Regions from separate parts of the Homo sapiens genome. Here region 2 is linked to region 1. Evidence: promoter capture Hi-C in human tissues and cell types (Jung and others, 2019). All regions are on one chromosome and are shown on one strand. Each heading gives the region's core, a stretch centred on a gene start or on the middle of the fragment in contact. The rest is flanking DNA. Distances are from core to core; before and after follow the strand shown. Region 1 holds the start of PRRX2 (paired related homeobox 2). Region 2 overlaps NTMT1 (N-terminal Xaa-Pro-Lys N-methyltransferase 1).

Region 1 (2,700 bases), core at 112-2,611:
AGTCGATTCCTTTCCAGCGCGGGAGGGGGTGGGGGCGGACACAAACAACACACGCTGTGAGGATTAATGTATTATAATGTATTGCTAGGCTTTCCTTAAAAATAGTGTTCCCGGCTGGGTGCGGTGGCTCACGCCTGTAATCCCAGCACTGTGGGAGGCCGAGGCAGGTGGATCACCTGAGGTCAGACGCTGGAAACCAGACTGGCCAACATGGTGAAACCCCTCCTCTACTAAAAATACAAAAATTACCCGGGCATGGTGATGCACACCTGTAATCCCAGCTACTCGAGAGGCTGAGGCAGGAGAAGCGCTTGAAGTCAGGAGGCGGAGGTTGCAGCGAGCCGAGATCACGACACTGCACTCCAGCCTGGGCGACAGAGCCAGACTCTTGTCTCAAAAAAATAAAAATAAATAATAATAATAAATAATAAATAAAAATAATGGTCCGCAGGCTTTCAGGGATGTGTGCGGGCCGGTTTTCCATATGGGAACAGGGAAAGGATGTGCTGAAGGCTTCCTCCGGTAGGCGACTTTGGCTGATGTGACTTTATGCCTCGTAGTGAGGGCAGGGCGACAGAGGGACGGGCCGGTGAGCGGCTGTCCTGGAGAAAGAGCAGTGGCATCCGGGGGGCTTAGGGTCTCAGGTCTGCTCACTCCGCACATCTTTTCTGTGCTTTCATTGAAAAACAAAACTGAAACAAGAGCGGACACCTAAGTCTGCCTCTCTCTTTCCTGTCACCCGTCTCAGGCTGGCTGTCCTCTGTGTGTGCGCCAGGAATTCTGCAACGAAGCGCCTGCCTCTCCGCTTGGTTTTCCTTGGGGAAGGGCCTGGGGCCTCCTGGGGGGTGGGCACCGGGTGTGTGGGTGTGTGTGGGGGACCTGGCAGGGAGCAGCGGGGGAGAGGCGGGGTGGGGGGTCGCGTACACCCCAGGAGCCTGAGGATGCGCTGCCTGCTGGGAGAGACAGCCTTGGGGCGGGTGGTGTGCACAGAGCTCTGTCGGCCAGCGCGGGCGGGCGGGGCCGTTGTTGGGGGCGCTGAGGCGAGTGAGGCTGGAGCTGGGAGTGGGGGGCTCGTCGCCTTCGTCTCTGGGCCGCCCCCTCCACCTGCGGAGGCGATTGTAAAGGGAAGGGGGGAATCCCTCTGCCATCACCTCCCAGATACTTGGGGGATGGAAAACGACAAAACACGGAACCTCCCACTCCCTAAAAAGTGGGTGGGGAGGGTGAAGGGAGGACACCCCTTCCCCGCCCCCAGCGCCAGCAGCCGGGGTGGGGGCGGGCGAGGCGCGCGGGGAGGAGAGGGCGGAGGAGAGGACGGGGGGCGAGGTTTGCTTCAAGAAGGGGCGTGTGGCCGGCGCAGCGCGTGCACCAGCGGCTCCGGAGCGAGCGGCCGTGGCTGAGAAGGGGAGGGCGGAAAGTTTGTTTCCCCGACGTCAGCGCCGGGCGGGCCGCGAGGCTAGGAGGCGGCGGGAGCTGGGCAGAGCGCGGGGCGGCCGGGGCTCTCGCTCCGACCCGCGCCCGCGACCCTTCCTGGGACCCGAGCCCGAGACCCCCGCCGGCCCCCCCGGGGCCGCTCGCGGGCATGGACAGCGCGGCCGCCGCCTTCGCCCTGGACAAGCCGGCGCTGGGCCCGGGGCCGCCGCCGCCTCCACCCGCGCTGGGGCCCGGCGACTGCGCCCAGGCGCGCAAGAACTTCTCGGTGAGCCACCTCCTGGACCTGGAAGAGGTGGCGGCGGCCGGGCGGCTGGCGGCGCGCCCCGGGGCCAGGGCCGAGGCGCGGGAGGGCGCAGCACGGGAGCCGTCCGGGGGCAGCAGCGGCAGCGAGGCGGCGCCGCAGGATGGTGAGTACGGCCGGCCAGGGACGGGGGTGGCGGGGCCGGGGCCGGGGCCGGGGCCGGGGCGCGGGGTCCGGGGAGCCGGCGCGGGGCGGGCGAAGATGCAGGGCGCGTGGTCGGCGGCAGGACTTCTGGGGGCGCGTGTAAGTGACGGTGGACGGCGGTTGACCAGCACTCTGGGCTGGGGGAGGGGGACCCTCTTCGGGTCTTGGGGTGCGTCCCCACGGGGAAGTGCGCTGCCTTCGCTCCCCAGTATTCGGCTCCCGAACAGCCTGGGAAGTGGGTGTGGCTGCTGCCGGGTTACAACTGGGGAAACAGAGACCTGAGTCGGGCAAAGCCGCTGAGCTGCACGTTGGGGTTTCAAACCCGCCCCCTCCCGCACGAGCTAGCGCCGCCCCAGCTCCTCCTCGGTCTTAAGTTGGGCTCTTTGGGGGGCGAGGGTGCCTGCCCACCCCCCCCCACCCTCCAGTTTGCCCCGGGAGCAGCTGCCTCGGTGGAACGGCCCAGCCAGGCCTCTCTTCCCCGGCAGAGGTCAAAGGTCATCAGGAAGGGGCTTTAAAAACAAACAACCCACCCAAGTGGCCTTTTTCAAAAAGTGACACAGGATGGCAGGGTCCTGAGCCCTTGGTAAGAAGGGGAGGGACGGGGAGAAGATGGAGAAAAAGCAAAGGCCCCAGCCCCGGACGGTTCAGTGGGGGAGGGGAGGACCGGAGTCCTCGCGGCTCAGCACACACTAAGGATGGGGGCCCGGTGATCTGAAACCAGGCCCCTGTCCCCTAGCTCTGGGGATGGGCCGGCCTGCTGGGGGCTCTGGGCCCCTGAAGTGTGCCCGCCTGACTCCAGCAGCCCTCCCACCCGCCCCGGG
Region 2 (2,700 bases), core at 136-2,635, 34 kb before region 1:
GAAGAGGGAAGCCAGGTGCAGTGGCGTGCGCCTGTAATCTCAGCTACTTGGGAGGCTGAGCAGGGAGGATGGCTTGAGCCCAGGAGTTTGGGGCCAGCCTGGGCCACATAGTAAGACCCCATCTCAAAAAAACAAGAATCTGAAGAGAAGTTTAAGCAGGCTTCTCTCTAGGCACAGCCAAAGGATTCTGCTAAGGGTGAGAAGACCCAATCACGGATCTAAGAAGAACCCCGTTGCATCTGTTAGAAGTATTCTTGAGCTGGCTGGGCGGGGTGGGCCTACTGCTTCTGGAAAGTTCCTTCTCTTTCAGGACAGGTTCAGAATATAGTAGTGCAGAATATAGTTCTGGGGCCAGTAACAAATTTGACCAATGAAAAATCTTGGCTGGGTGCAGTGGTTTCTGCCTGTAATCCCAACACCTTGGGAGGCTGAGGCAGGTGGATTGCTTGCAGCCAGGTGTTTGAGACCAGCCTGGGCAACGTGGCAAAACTCCATATCTACAGAAAATACAAAAGTTAGCCAGGTGTGGCGGTATGTGCCTGCAGTCCCAGCTACCCTGGAGGCTGAGATGGGAGGATCACCTGAGCTGTACTCAAGTCTGGCGACAGTGAGACCCTTTCTAAAAAAAAAGAAGAAAAAATTCTCCAGCTTGTCTTGTGTTTAGTTTCCCTTCTCTTTCCTCATAGTTGCTTCCCAAAGGCCTCGTGCTCCTTCTCAGGGCATTTTCCCGTTTCCCTCTGACCACTTCTCTTGAAGCCCCTAGAGTGTTCCTGGGTCTTAAGCTTTGAGTTGTGTTTGAGGACTGTACCCGAGTTCCATATGTGGACTCTTCCGTGTTGACCCTGTAGCTCCAGGAGTCAGGCAGACGGTCTTGGACCTACGATTTGTCAACTTTGGCGACAGGCATTTGCTAGAAGCCCCCTGCTCTCCTCGTGTGGAGGCAGCACGTGCGAGGCGGTGAGCTGCAGCTCCCAGTCAGCTGCGCGTTTTCCACCGAGGGTATTTTCCCTTTACCATGGGTTTATCAGGATGTAGCAGCTGCTGCTGCTGGGATTCCTACCACCCACTGTTGCTGTGTGTCCTCAGCACGGCCACTGCCATTCTCACTCTGCCTCCTTTAGGTTAGGCCTTGGCAGTGTGGGAAACACATCAGCCGAGAGTTGGTGCCCAGCATGCACTCGAGGCCACCCTCATCCAGGCCCCGTCTGCCTTTCCGAGCTCACCTTCCACAGTCTTCCCCCGCTCCACTCTCCGCCCTCTGATGGCCCATGCTGTCCCACGGCTGCTCCCTCTGTCTGCCCCACCCCCTCCAGCACTCCCTGTGCTTGGCTGCCCAGCTCGGGCTGCCTCCTCCAGGCGGCTGCCCCTATCTGCTGTTGGGAGGAGATTCCTCTGCCCTTTGAGTGTCCTCGACACTTTGTGGGTCCATGAGAATCCTTATTTTTCTGCTGTGTATTTTCTTTCCCTTTGTTCTTTGTCCTCCTGGACTAGAGCTCTCTGAGGTCTTGGCAAGCCTCACAGCAACTAGAACAGCCCCTAAGCGTGGTGTGCCTTGGTGACAGCACTGTGCCTTGGGAAGCTTATGGCAGAATGGCCACCCGTGGAGCACGGAGCCGCCCAACTGTCATCGCTGTCCTGAAGGGTGAGGTGGGCCTGGGCTCTGCTGCCAGGACCCAGCTGAGGCTTTCTAGTTCTCTCTCCTTCTACCGTGGCAACCGTCTCCTCATCCCCCTGCCATCTCCACCGCCGCCAGCAGTCTTCAGAAGCATCGGTCTTCCCGGGCCACTCTCTGTTGGGCCTCAGGGTGGTTGACTCATTGCTCTGTAGGATGCAGTCGAAACTGCTAGAGTTGACTGTGAGACCAGGAACTGGCAGCCGCGAGGGCTGTCTGTCCTTCCCTCCAGGAGCAGTGCCGTCGCCCTCCACCTACTGCGCTTATTCTTGCCCATCCATCGGTTTCAGCTTACGCGTCCCCTCCTCAGGGATGCCTTCCCTGGTCCCCGCACCCGACTCCACTTCCTCCCTCCGTGCTCTGCTGGCACTGGCGCTTCTCCTCTGCAGCCCTCCCTGCAGGTGTGGTTGTGTCTGTAGAATTGTTTTCTGCCTGGCTGGCTGCCTGGTTCACAGCCCGGTGCCTGGCACAGAGTCCCCACTCCTTGTTAACGGAGGACTGGACCCCACCGTGAGTTGTTGCTGTGCTCTGAGCCAGAGGAAGGGAGGCGTGGAAGCTTCCCTGGCCCTCCAGGGTCTGCTGGTGCTCTCGGCTTTGCGGTCGTTTCTCTTTATTGATCAGGGTTTTCTGTGCCCTGAAGCCACTGAGTCAGGTGTCATATAGAGCATATCAAGAACTTGAAGCCAGGCCAGGCACATGGGCTCACACCCGTAATCCCAGCACTTTGGGAGGCCAAGGTGGGAGAATCTCTTGAGGTCAGGACTTCAAGACCAACCTTTGTAACATAGTGAGACCCCATCTCTACAAAAAATAATTAGCCAGGCATGGTGGCACACAACTGTAGTCCTAGCTGCTCCGGAGGGTGAGGTGGGAGGGTCTCTTGAGCTCGGGAGTTGGAGGCTGCATTGAGCTATGATCACACCACTGCACTCCAGAAAAAATAAAAATGTAAAAGAACTTGAAGCCAGGACTTGGGGCGGGTGCTCTGAGTGCAAAAGACAGAAGATGCTGTTATCCAAGGGGTAGAA

Evidence for each region. The method cuts DNA at HindIII sites, captures the fragments that hold promoters and counts their contacts. A contact is called where the count stands out against the background at its distance.
Region 2: a contact is called between a fragment that was not itself captured here and the fragment with the promoter of PRRX2 in region 1, in 6 of the 25 tissues and cell types used here (aorta, liver, lymphoblastoid cells and 3 more).

Annotation. Positions count from the first base shown.
Region 1 is chr9:129,664,286-129,666,985 of GRCh38, forward strand. PRRX2 (paired related homeobox 2) reads left to right here and starts at 1,362. Exons shown (of 4, transcript NM_016307.4): 1 at 1,362-1,841. The coding sequence starts at 1,583. The HindIII fragment of the contact is 13,961 bases long and covers 4-2,700 here.
Region 2 is chr9:129,629,809-129,632,508 of GRCh38, forward strand. The region is part of intron 1 of NTMT1 (N-terminal Xaa-Pro-Lys N-methyltransferase 1); the gene reads left to right. Among named protein-coding and RNA genes, the nearest start is that of NTMT1, 5.0 kb to the left of the region's middle. RefSeq lists an enhancer at 1,543-2,333. The HindIII fragment of the contact is 4,298 bases long and covers 1-2,700 here.